Regions from separate parts of the Homo sapiens genome. Here regions 1 and 3 are each linked to region 2. Evidence: promoter capture Hi-C in 16 types of primary human blood cells and fetal thymus (Javierre and others, 2016). All regions are on one chromosome and are shown on one strand. The core of a region is centred on a gene start or on the middle of the fragment in contact, and the rest is flanking DNA. Distances in the headings are between cores, read along the strand shown. Region 1 overlaps NPHS1 (NPHS1 adhesion molecule, nephrin). Region 2 holds the start of GAPDHS (glyceraldehyde-3-phosphate dehydrogenase, spermatogenic). Region 3 holds the start of LSR (lipolysis stimulated lipoprotein receptor).

What was found. Contacts are between HindIII fragments. The CHiCAGO score rates a contact against its expected background, and 5 or more counts as called.
Region 1: a fragment that was not itself captured here is called in contact with the fragment with the promoter of GAPDHS in region 2 in 4 of 17 cell types (M2 macrophages, neutrophils, M0 macrophages and 1 more); the score reaches 7.7 in M2 macrophages.
Region 3: the fragment with the promoter of LSR here is called in contact with the fragment with the promoter of GAPDHS in region 2 in 4 of 17 cell types (monocytes, naive B cells, total B cells and 1 more); the score reaches 5.8 in monocytes.

Annotation. Positions count from the first base shown.
Region 1 is chr19:35,833,936-35,837,692 of GRCh38, forward strand. It overlaps NPHS1 (NPHS1 adhesion molecule, nephrin), which reads right to left. Exons shown (of 29, transcript NM_004646.4): 23 at 1,770-1,826. Among named protein-coding and RNA genes, the nearest start is that of NPHS1, 17 kb to the right of the region's middle. The HindIII fragment of the contact is 895 bases long and covers 1,876-2,770 here.
Region 2 is chr19:35,532,188-35,535,805 of GRCh38, forward strand. GAPDHS (glyceraldehyde-3-phosphate dehydrogenase, spermatogenic) reads left to right here and starts at 1,269. Exons shown (of 11, transcript NM_014364.5): 1 at 1,269-1,407. The coding sequence starts at 1,341. RefSeq lists an enhancer at 2,126-2,255. The HindIII fragment of the contact is 5,250 bases long and covers 1-3,156 here.
Region 3 is chr19:35,246,336-35,250,283 of GRCh38, forward strand. It overlaps LSR (lipolysis stimulated lipoprotein receptor), which reads left to right and starts at 2,667. Exons shown (of 10, transcript NM_205834.4): 1 at 2,667-2,796. The coding sequence starts at 2,688. RefSeq lists enhancers at 1,251-1,420, 1,554-2,356, 2,357-3,158 and silencers at 2,271-2,350, 2,761-2,830. The HindIII fragment of the contact is 9,039 bases long and covers 1-3,948 here.

The sequences.
Region 1 (3,757 bases), core at 1,073-3,572, 300 kb after region 2:
AAGTGATCTACCTGCCTCAGCCTCCCAAAGTTCCGGGATTATAGGCATGAGCCACTGTGCCCAGCCAAGCCATTCTTTTTCGTGTTGACAAAACAGCTGCATTTCTGTCACTTGCAACCTTTTTCTCGGGCTCTGAAGGGGATTTTTTTGCCAAATGGTTGCAATCATCTCCCAGTAGTCACATCCTTGAGTGCGGGGCCTTTCCACACTGACTCTGTGTTGAGCCATGTGACTTGCTTTGGCCAATGAGACACAACTATGACGGAATCAGCTAGTAAATTGCTGCTTTTGACCCCCGTGACCACCTCCATGTGAAAAAGTCAAGAAGAGACACGCGCCCAGTTATCTCCATTGTTCCAACCAAGAGCCAGATGACTATCAGAAGTGTGGGAAGGGGGCAACCCTAGACCACCCAGTCCAGTGGAGCTGCCAGCTGACTGCAGAGATGATTTAAGCCAGCCCAGACCAGCACTGTTCCGCCAGACTCAGAATCATGAGGAAGAATGTTGCTATAAGCACCCATGTTTGGGGTGGTTCATTATACAGCAAAAGCTAACTGATGCAGGCTTCTTACAGGACATGGAGTGAGCTAATTCTTACGGAATTAAACTAAATTTGGAAGAGAAGAAAATTTATCACTCCAGGCAAGAGGAAGATCTAAGAAAAAAAAAATTGGCCAGATGCAGTGGCTCACGCCTGTAATCCCAGCACTTTGGGAGGCTGAGGTGGGTGAATCATGAGGTCAGGAGTTAAAGACCATCCTGGCTAACGCGGTGAAACCTCATCTCTACTAAAAATACAAAAAATTAGCTGGGCGTGTTGGCACGTGCCTGTAGTCCCAGCTACTCGGGAGGCTGAGGCAGGAGAGGAAGCCGGGAGGTGGAGATAGCAGTCAGCCGAGATCGCACCACTGCACTCCAGCCTGGGCAACAAACAGAGCAAGAATCCATCTCAAAAAATAAAAAAATAAAAAAAAAAAATGCCGAGTGCCGTAGCTCATGCCTGTTATCCCAGCACTTTGGGAAGCTGAGGCAGGCAGATCACTTGAGGTCGGGAGTTCGAGACCAGCCTGGCCAACATGGTGAAACCCCGTCCCTACTAAAAAAGTACAACAATTAGCCAGGTGTGGTGGCAGGTGCCTGTAATCCCAGCAACTCGGGAGGCTAAGGCAAAAGAATCGCTTGAACCTGGGAGGTGGAGGTTGCAGTGAGCCAAGATTTTGCCACTTCACTCCAGCCTGGGCAACAGAATGAGACTCTGTCTCAAAAAAAAAAAAAAAAAAAAGAAAGAAAGAAAGAAAAAAGAGGAAGCTCTAAGGAGTCTGCAAGTCTGCAATTCTGCAGGGACAGAACTAAGTCTTTTTTTTTTTTTTTTTTTTTTTTGAGATAGGGTCTCCCTCTGTTGCCAAGGCTGGAGTGCAGTGGCTCAGTCATAGCTCACTGCATCCTCCAACTCCTGGGCTTATGCAATCCTCCCACCTCAGCCTTCTGAGTAGTTGGGACTACAGGCACATGCCACTACACCCAGCTATTTTTTATTTTTGCAAAGATGGAGTCTTGCTATGTTGCCCAAGCTGGTCTCAAACTCCTGGGCTCAAGTGATCACATGCCTTGGCCTCCCAAAGTGTTGGGATTACAGGCGTGAGCGACTGAGCTTGGCCAGAACTAAGTCGTTAAGCAGCTGTGACTACAAGCAGAGGAGGTAGGGTCAGAGACCAGGAGGTTCCATTCTCAGGGGAGCCGGGAGGGATCAGGGGACTGAGGACTTGCCTGAAGGTGGCTCTGTGGGCAGCTGGTCTTCAGGTTCTCCAGAAGGCTGGTGGAGACCTGGGGGGTGGATATACAGATTGTGACTTAACACTAAGAATCTGAGATAAGCTTTAAATATTTCTCAGCCTCTTCTTAAGCCTATTAGATTCATGGGAACTGGTATATGACTGCTTAAGAATATTTCAAAGAGAGCTAGAAATTGCTGATAATAATGACAATACTATTAATAGCAATTCTAATGGTAACGCTAATGCTAAGAATAATTTGTTTTTTGAGACTGAACCTCTCTCTATTGCCCAGGCTGGAGTGCAGTGGCGCAATCTCAGCTCACTGAAACCTCTGCCTCCCGGGTTCAAGCAATTCTCCTGCCTCAGCCTCCCAAGTAGCTGGGACTACAGGCACCTGCCACTATGCCTGGCTAATTTTTTGTATTTTTAGTAGAGATGGGGTTTCACCATGTTGGCCAGGCTAGTCTCGAACTCCTGACCTCGTGATTCGCCCACCTCGGCCTTCCAGAGTGCTGGGATTACAGGCGTGAGCCACTGCGCCTGGCCATTTTTTTTTTTTTAAAGAGACAGGGTCTCACTCTGTCGCTCAGGCTGGAGTGCAGTGGTATGATCATAGCTCACTGCAGCCTCGACCTCCTGGGTTCAAGCTATCCTCCCGCCTCAGACTCCTGATTAGCTGGGACTACAGGCATGCATCACCATGCCTGGCCCAAAAATTAACTGTTGATGAGCACTTTCGGTGTGCAAGGTCCTTTTCACCCGAATTATCAATTTGTTGAGTTAACCAAAAAAGACTTTGGGCTCTCGATCCCTTAATAAAGGTACAAGTTCTAAAGCAAAGGAGGCAAGTGTCATACTTTATGTTTTAGTGTTCAAAGGGAAGACTGGAGTGGGGTGGGGGGAAGAGCAGAGAAGATTGTAGGGGTGAAAAAGTGTCCTTACTTCCATTGAGAAAAAGCCTGCTCTGTCAGGAAGAGGAAAACAGAAAGGAGAAGCTTGCGGCCAGGAGTGGTGGCACACGTCTGTAATCCCAGCACTTTGAGAGACTGAGGCAGGTGGATCACCTGAGGTTAGGACTTTGAGACCAGCCTGGCCAACATGGTGAAACCCTGTCTCTACTAAAAAATACAAAAATTAGCCAGGCGTGGTGGTATGCACCTGTAATCCCAGCTACTTGGAAGGCTAAGGCAGGAGAATTGCTTGAACCTGGGAGGCAGAGGTTGCAGTGAGCCGAGATCATGCCACTGTACTCCAGCCTGAGTGACAGAGCAAGATTCCATTGCAAAAAAAAAAAAAAAGAAAGAAAAGAAAAGAAAAGAAAGAAAGAAAGAAAGAAAGAAAGAAAGAAAGAAAGAAAGAAAAATAAACTGAGCCACAAAGATCTGTGCTATATATTTTTAGAAACTGAGACACTTGCCTATGGTCACACAACTAAGAGGTAGCAGAGAGGGGATTTGAACCCAAGCTTCTCTGGACCAGGCTCTGAAGGATTTACCACTACAATACTGTGCCTATCAGAATTGTAACATATTCATCATATTCAAGGAATTTGTCCTTCTCATCCAACTTGCTGAATTTATTGGAATAAAGTTATCCATAATATTCCCTAATTATCCTCTTAATGTCTGTGGAGTCTGTGGTAACATCCCTTCTTCCATTCCTGTTATTGGTAACTTGTATTTTCTCCCTTTTATTTGTCTTAATCAGATTTATAAATGTTATTGATTTTTTTCAAATAACCAGCTTCTGGTTTCATTGATTTTCTCAATTGTTTTTCTGTTTTCTAATTCATTCATTTCTGCTCTTACCATTATTATTTTCTTCTTTCTGTTTACTTTGGGTTTAATTTGTTCGTCTTTTATTAGCTTCTTTCTTTCTCTCTCTCTCTCTCTCTCTCTTTCTTTCTTTAGATGGAGTTTTGCTCTTGTTGCCCAGGCTGGAGTACAATGGCACCATCTCTGCTCACTGCAACCTCTGCCT
Region 2 (3,618 bases), core at 19-2,518:
CTGGAGTGCAGTGACACAATCACAGCTCACTGCAGCCTTGACCTCCTAGGCTCAAGTGATCCTCCCACCTCAGCCTCCCTAATAATTGGGACAACAGGCATGCACCACCACACCTGGCTACTTTTTTTATTTTTTGTAGATACAGGGTTTTGCCACATTGCCCATGTTGGTCTCAAACTCCTGGACTCAAATGATCCTCCCACCTCAGCCTCCCAAAGTGTTGGGATTACAGGCATGAGCCACTGCGTCCAGCCCACAAACACCTTTCAGGTGCCAAACACTTTTCTTGTCAATGGGATACAGAAGTGACATAGATGACGTCCCTGTCCTCTCAGAGCTTACAGTCTGGTGGACAGAGACAGTTGGCAAGAAAACAAACAATTTTTAGAGAGACATGTGCTCTAAGGAAAATAAAAACATAGACAGTGTAGCCCTAGAGAAATTTTGCACACTGAAGCATAACTCAGAATGGAGAAGTCAGACAAGGCTTCCTGGAAGATGGGCAGAAATTGGGAAGGGGGTGACGGCTGACAGTGACAGAGAAAGGAGGGAACTTAGATGCAGAGTGTAGAAAGCCTCTCTTAAAGGGTGGGAAACCAAGAGGCAGCCAAGGGAAGCCCTGGGTGGGCCTTCCAGGCATACGGAGGCAGCAAGAGTCACTCCACTGGAGAATCCAAGGGACAGCATGGAACCTGTGTGCTTCAAGAGACAGAGAAGAGGAAAGGGCTTTCAGGAACAGTGTAAAAGGTGGGATTCCAGGCTGGGTGTGGTGGCTCGCTCCTGTAATCCCAGCATTTTGGAAGGCCGAGGTGGGAGGATCGCTTGAGCCCAAGGGTTCTAGACCAGCCTGAGCAAAAGAGTGAGACCCTCTCTCTACAAAAAAATAAAAAGTAAAAATAGCCTGCAGTGGTGGCTGCACATGTAGTCCCAGCTACTCAGGAGGCCGAGGCGGGAGGATCGCTTGAGCCCAGGAGTTCAAGGCTGCAGTGAGCCATGATTGCACCACTGCACTCCAGCCTAGGAGAAAGAGTGACACCCCGTCTCAAAATAAATAAACAAATGATAATTTTAAAAAGTGGGATTCCATTCCAGACGGCAGTGCGTGGCCGTGGAACGGTGATGCATAGCGTGCTGACGTCCCATGCCTCTACGGGGATGGGATGCGATGGTGTCAGGCCTCTGGCTTGGGCGCCGCCCCTCGGCGACGTCACTGGGTACTGTGACGTCACTGGGTGCTGTGACATCAGGGCAATTAGCCCAGGACCCACAGCCCTGGCGCTCCGCACGCACCTCGGTAACATCACAGCAGGTCCAGGCCAATGATAACCTTATAAGAGGCCATGTCGAAGCGCGACATCGTCCTCACCAATGTCACCGTTGTCCAGTTGCTGCGACAGCCGTGCCCGGGTGAGGGAGGCAGCGGAGGGCGCGGGGGAGGGGTGGAAAGGGTAGTGGGGAGCGTCTGCACCCTCACACCTGTGCCGTATCCCTACCGCCCTTCCTGGCGTGTGCACCATCTAGGGACCAGGGGATCAGCCGCTCTCCCTCCCTCCACACCCGCCAGTGTGCTGGCAGAGTGGGGTTTACTGCCATGGCGGGGAGACCGGGCCTCCGCCCCCAGGGCTGGGTGGGCTTCGCGCCGCTATCACGCGGTAGAAAGAGCAGAAACGAGGGCCATCGGAGGCTGCAGCCTGAAAGTGGCGGGAAGTGGGCGGGCTTAGGAGGGGCTTAGGGAGAACCCAGGGGTGCTGGGCTTCCATGTAAAAGTGATGTTCATGGCGCTTCGCGTGAGGTGAGCTTTGCCCTCCCTGTGATGCACAAAACAAGGACACTTGGAACCTTGCCGGGGACGTGCTGACCACTTCGCAGGCGAGAGCTCAGGGAAGCCTCACCACCACCTGAGAAGGCCAGAGTGTGCCCGCAGTTTACAGAGCGGCCAACAGAGGTTAAGAGAGGGCAAACTACTTCCTTAGTCTCTCAACAAGGGCGGCGCGCCCGCGCGCGCGCACACACACACACACACACTCACTCACTCACTCTAGCCGGAGGAACCAGGTCTTCCGGTGGGCTGCCTCCATTCCCACACTGTTCCCTCACTTCCCAAGGGCGGGGGCCGCAGGGGTAGGTGGGGCTGGGGCTTTGGTCCAGGAGACCCTGGAAGACACAGGAGCAGACAGGCTTACCAGCCTCATGAGACTTGAACCCCTGCCCTGCGCATCACTGCTCCGTGGCCTCAGGCTTCATTTTCCCCTCTGTAAAGTGGGTTTATAGCGCATGCCTCTCGGGATTCAGTGGGAGGACGCAGTGAGGAGCTGGGGGCAGCACCCAGCTAGCCCCCAGGCTTTTCTCCAACCGGGGGACCCCACCCCTACAGTGGAGGGGAAGAGAGTGCAAGGCTGGGAGTGCTGGGAGAGGAGGACCATCTGAGTTTTCTTCGGAAGGGTCACCCATTGGGCTCAGATTCCCACCTGAACCAGGTGGACAAATCCCCTTTCTCCCATAGCAGAAACAACCCCCAAGGATGCAAACATCCTCAAGTTCACCAATAAACACTAACACCTTCATGAACTTGGACAGCCACTGGAAACACCTATAGTCCAGCCTCAGGCCACAAGGTCTGTGGCAACAGGGAGAGGTCAGGGAGACAGACAGGCCAGCTGGCCCCCGGCTCCCAGCCCCACCACCCCCCAGGTGCCTTTGATTTGGTGCCAAAAACTTGGACTCCCACTACCCCCTTCCAGCCCTTCTCCACCCCCTGCTGTCTCCCTTTCCTCAGGAATCTGTGTAGGATCAGACTTCCCTCCTCTATTAAAATCAGCTCCTATGTGTGGGCCTCGAGATCTCACTGCGCCCTCACAGCAGCCCCTAGGTGGGGGATCAGCCCCAAGAGGTTCATTAACTTGCTCAAATCCACAGAGCAGCAGGTCTGTGTGGACTGAGCCAGGCTTGACTTTCCAGCTTGAAACTCTCTGCCACCAGGTCCCCTGAGTCTCCACTTCTCCCCTCTTCTCAAGCCCTCCTCTGTAGCTCAGGCGGCTGCTACCTCCAGGCGCAGGTGTTTTTAAGTGCAGTCTGGGAGCAGGAGTGTGTGTGGAGAGGTGGGAGCCAATGTGAGCTTCCATGGGTTTCACAGAGTATGATACACGGTACTCTCTAAGCTTCCCTGAGGATAAGAAATGCCTGGAGTGCTTATTTTATTTTTTATTTTTTTTTGGGAGATGGAGTTTCGCTCTTGTTGCCCAGGCTGGAGTGCAGTGGCACGATCTCGCCCACCACAACCTCCGCCTCCTGGGTTCAAGCGATTCTCCTGCTTCAGCCTCCTGAGTAGCTGGGATTACAAGCATGTGCCACCACGCCTGGCTAATTTTTTTGTATTTTTAGTAGAGACGGGGTTTCTGCATGTTGGTCAGACTGGTCTCAAACTCCCAACCTCAGGTGATCTGCCTGCCTCGGCCTCCCAAAGTGCTGGGATTACAGGCGTGAGCCACCGCTCCCGGCCTGGAGTGCTGATTAAAAACAGGATTTCTGGGCCTCCATACAGACCCACTGAGTCCGATTTTTCTAGGAAGAGCCCTCCTCAGGTGATTTTTTTTTTTTTTTGAGACAGAGTCTCACTCT
Region 3 (3,948 bases), core at 1,417-3,916, 280 kb before region 2:
AAAACTATAAAACTCTTAGAAGAAAATATTGTTGAAAATCTTCATCACATTGGACTTGGCAACAACTGCATAAATAGGATACCAAAAGTACAAGGAAGAAAAAATAGTAGGTAAATTGAACTTCATCAAATTAAGAACTTTTGTGCACCAAAGGACACTATCAAGAAAGTGAAAAAACCTGGAGAATGGAAGAAAATATTTGCAGATCATATATCTAACAAGGGATTAATATTCAAAATATATATAGAACTCCTACAACTTGACAACAAAAAAACAAACAACCCAATTCAAAAATGGGCAAAGTACTTGAATAGACACTTCTCCAAAGAAGATATACTAATGGACAATAAATTCGTGGAAATATGCTCAACATCGTTAGTCATTGGGGAAATGCAGATTACAACCACAATGAGATGCCACTTCACACTAACCAGGATGGCCATAATCAAGAAAATGGATAATAAGTTTTGGTGGGGATGTGGAGAAATTGGAATCCTCCGTGCATTGCTGGTGGGAATGTACAATAGTGCAGTCATTGGGGAAAACAGTTTGGCAGTTCCTCAAAAGGTTAAAAATAGAACTACCAAGTCACCCAGCAATTCCATTCTTAGGCATATATTCAAAAGAAATGAAAGCAGATATTTGTACACCAGTGTTCACAGCTGCACTATTTACAATAGTCAAAAGGTAGAAACAACCTAGGTCCATCCACAAATGAATGGATAAATAAAACGTAGCATATACATACAATGGTACACTAGTCCGCTGTAAAAAGAAATTTTGATCTTACTGCATGCTACATGGCTTCGACATACTACAACATGGATGGACCTTGAAAACATTATTCTTTGTGAAATAAACTAGACACAGGACAAATGTTAGACGATTCCACTTATATGAGGCACCTAGAATGGGCAATTTGGTAAGCAAAGTAGAATAGAAATTACTAGGGGCACAGGTAGCAGGGAATGGGGAGTTACTGTTTAATGGTCACAGAGTTTATGTTGGGGATGATGAAACAGTTTCGGGGATAAAGAGTGGTGATTGGTACACGACATTGTGAATATACTTAATGCCACTGAATTTTACACTTGAAGTGGTTAAAGCGATAAATATTATAGTTTGCATATTTTATCATAAAAATATTTTTTTAAACGATGAAGGGACGTGAACGGGTTGAAATTTTATAAAAAGTGGCCAGGGAAGGTGTCACTGCAATGGTGTCCTACAGGAGGAGGAAGATCATGTGGACATCTGCGGGAAGGGTGTTCTGGCAGAGGGAGTAGCACGGGCGATGGCTCTGAGGACTGTGAGAAGTATAGTTGGAAACAGCGAGGAGGCCAGGGTGTCCGAAGCTGAGTAAGCCAGAGAGAGTGGGAGGAGGTGAGATAAGAGGGGGAAGGTCAGTTTCTGCTGAGAGTGAGGAGGAGCCACAGGAGGGCTGTGAGCAGGTGGACGTGATCTGGCTTGAGTTTTAACAGGGCCAGTAGAACAAAGCACGCCTGGGTACCGAAACCAGCCACTGGCCAGTTGGCAACCTGGGGGAGTCTAACGCGAGGAAGCGCCCAGGGTTCCCCCAGGATGCGCTTTCCCTCGCCGCCACCTGGAGACAGCAGAGTCACGCCCAGCGCTGCGCAGGCTGATCGCCGCGCCGCGCCCCCGCCCTCGGTCGCAGGTGGCTCGTTCCGGGAATTCCTAAGCGGAAACCGGTCCCAAGCCCCGCGCCTTCGCTCGGCCCCTTTAAGAGCCAGAATTTCCGGAGGGCTGACCCGGGGGCTAGGGATGCCCAGGGGCCGAACCACAAGTTGGGAACGGGTGGGGGAGGTGGCGAAAACTTCCGAAGTGGAATTCCAACTTTTCCTGGCCCTGATTCCCCTTGGGCATCCCTGAGGGGGCAGAGCTTCCCTTCCGGGGACTTTAGAGGGTTCCTCAGGTCATCTAACTGGGAGACACAGGAGGCCCGAAGCGCCCCCCCTCCACCCGGTCCGGAGGAACCCCAGTGGAAGTGGAGAAGTCAGGCGCCACCAACAAGCCTCTCCCAGCCAGGACTTTGCTTAGACTCGCTCCTCCCGGCAGGGCGCACCTAGGCGGGTCCATCGCCAGCCGGGGAGAGGGGTTTGGGCAGGGAGGGAACAGGTGCGCGGCGGGACCCGCCCTATCTCAACAGGTGAATCGCTCCAAGTGGGTCTCGGTTGCATGGATCTCGGTGCGCTTGGTTTGGCCGGAGCAGATGGGGGCCGGAAGGGACCTGTGGTCCGCAGGCGCCCTCCCAGCGGGCCAGTCACTTGGTTCGGGCCCTGGGGGACGGAGCGCACCTGGGTCAGCCCACTTCCGGGGAGGGAGGCAGAGGAACCCCTCCCCGCCGCTCACCCCTAAGCCCAGCCCTCGGCTCCCACCCTTGTGTACCTGGGCCGAACCATTCACCGGAGCGCGCAGCGGGTGGAGTGTGGCTCGGAGGACCGCGGCGGGTCAAGCACCTTTCTCCCCCATATCTGAAAGCATGCCCTTTGTCCACGTCGTTTACGCTCATTAAAACTTCCAGAATGCAACAGGACGGACTTGGAGTAGGGACAAGGAACGGAAGTGGGAAGGGGAGGAGCGTGCACCCCTCCTGGCCTTGGTGCGCGCCGCGCCCCCTAAGGTACTTTGGAAGGGACGCGCGGGCCAGACGCGCCCAGACGGCCGCGATGGCGCTGTTGGCCGGCGGGCTCTCCAGAGGGCTGGGCTCCCACCCGGCCGCCGCAGGCCGGGACGCGGTCGTCTTCGTGTGGCTTCTGCTTAGCACCTGGTGCACAGGTACGGGGCACGGGGCCTCTGACGCTGCGGAACGCCGGAGGGAACTGTAGAGGGGGATGGATGGAGTTGGAGGCGGCGGGAAGCGGGAAGCGGGGGTCTCAGAGGCTGGGACCTTCCGATCCCCTGGGTCTTGGGCGATCTGTTGCGCGCGGGAGTGAGAGGAATTCCCCATTTGTGCCGGGGAGCGCTCCCCGCGCCCTTATCTGGAAGATAGCAGGAAGTGAAACTCCCTGGACGGTGAGACCCGGAGCGGCAGGGAGAATGGAACTCTTTGTGGGGAGGGAGTGGAAGACCGCCCGATCTCTGGGAAAAGAAAAGCCGGGATGGGACTTGGGCGCACCCGGGGATTTCTAAGTTTTGGAGTAACGGGGAGAGGGCACGGGAGGGCTGGATCAGACGCTTCCTAGAGGGACAGAGACGAAGGAACAATGCCTAGGCCTCGGGTGGGTGTGGGACTGGGGACTCCCCATCCCCCGCACCCCACCCACCTCCCGCGGGCTCCGGATTATACGTGCGTAAGAGTCTGGTGGGATGGATTTACGGACTTGAAACCGACTTCTGCTGGCAGGCTTTCACCTGGATGGGATATTTGGGTGGTGATGAGGTCTTTCCCGAGACACTTTTGGTTCAGTCATTTGAAATGACTTTAGAGTAGGGTGAGGTGGTGGGAGGCTGATGGAGATATTGTGGGGGCTTTAGTCCCTCCATGGCAAAGCAGTTCAGGCAAACAACTCCATGGTTTTCCCTCCAAATTCAAAAGGCCCCGGGTAACCTGGAATCCTTCGTAGTCGGTTTTGAAGTGGGGCCTTGGGCGCTGGGGGCATCAACATGGCCATCTGGGCTTGCCTGCCCAGGCCACACAGAGGCCCCTTGTTGTGGGTGAATGGCAAAGGGAAGAGGGGACTGGTGTGGTTCAGAGGCCACAGGCTGGGAAGAGGGATGGCGGGCGAGTCCAAGGAAACTGGCCGTGTCACCGTGCACCTGCCACTTCAGCCCCACGGGTCTATAAAATGGGCATGATTATCGTGGCTACCTCACTGGTCCTGGCAATTAAGGAACAATGTGTGCCAGGCACTCTGTAAACCACATACTTGCGAGTGTCAAGCTGGTGACAGGTGGCGTTCCTGTTGAAGCACCTCCCTGAGCTCACAG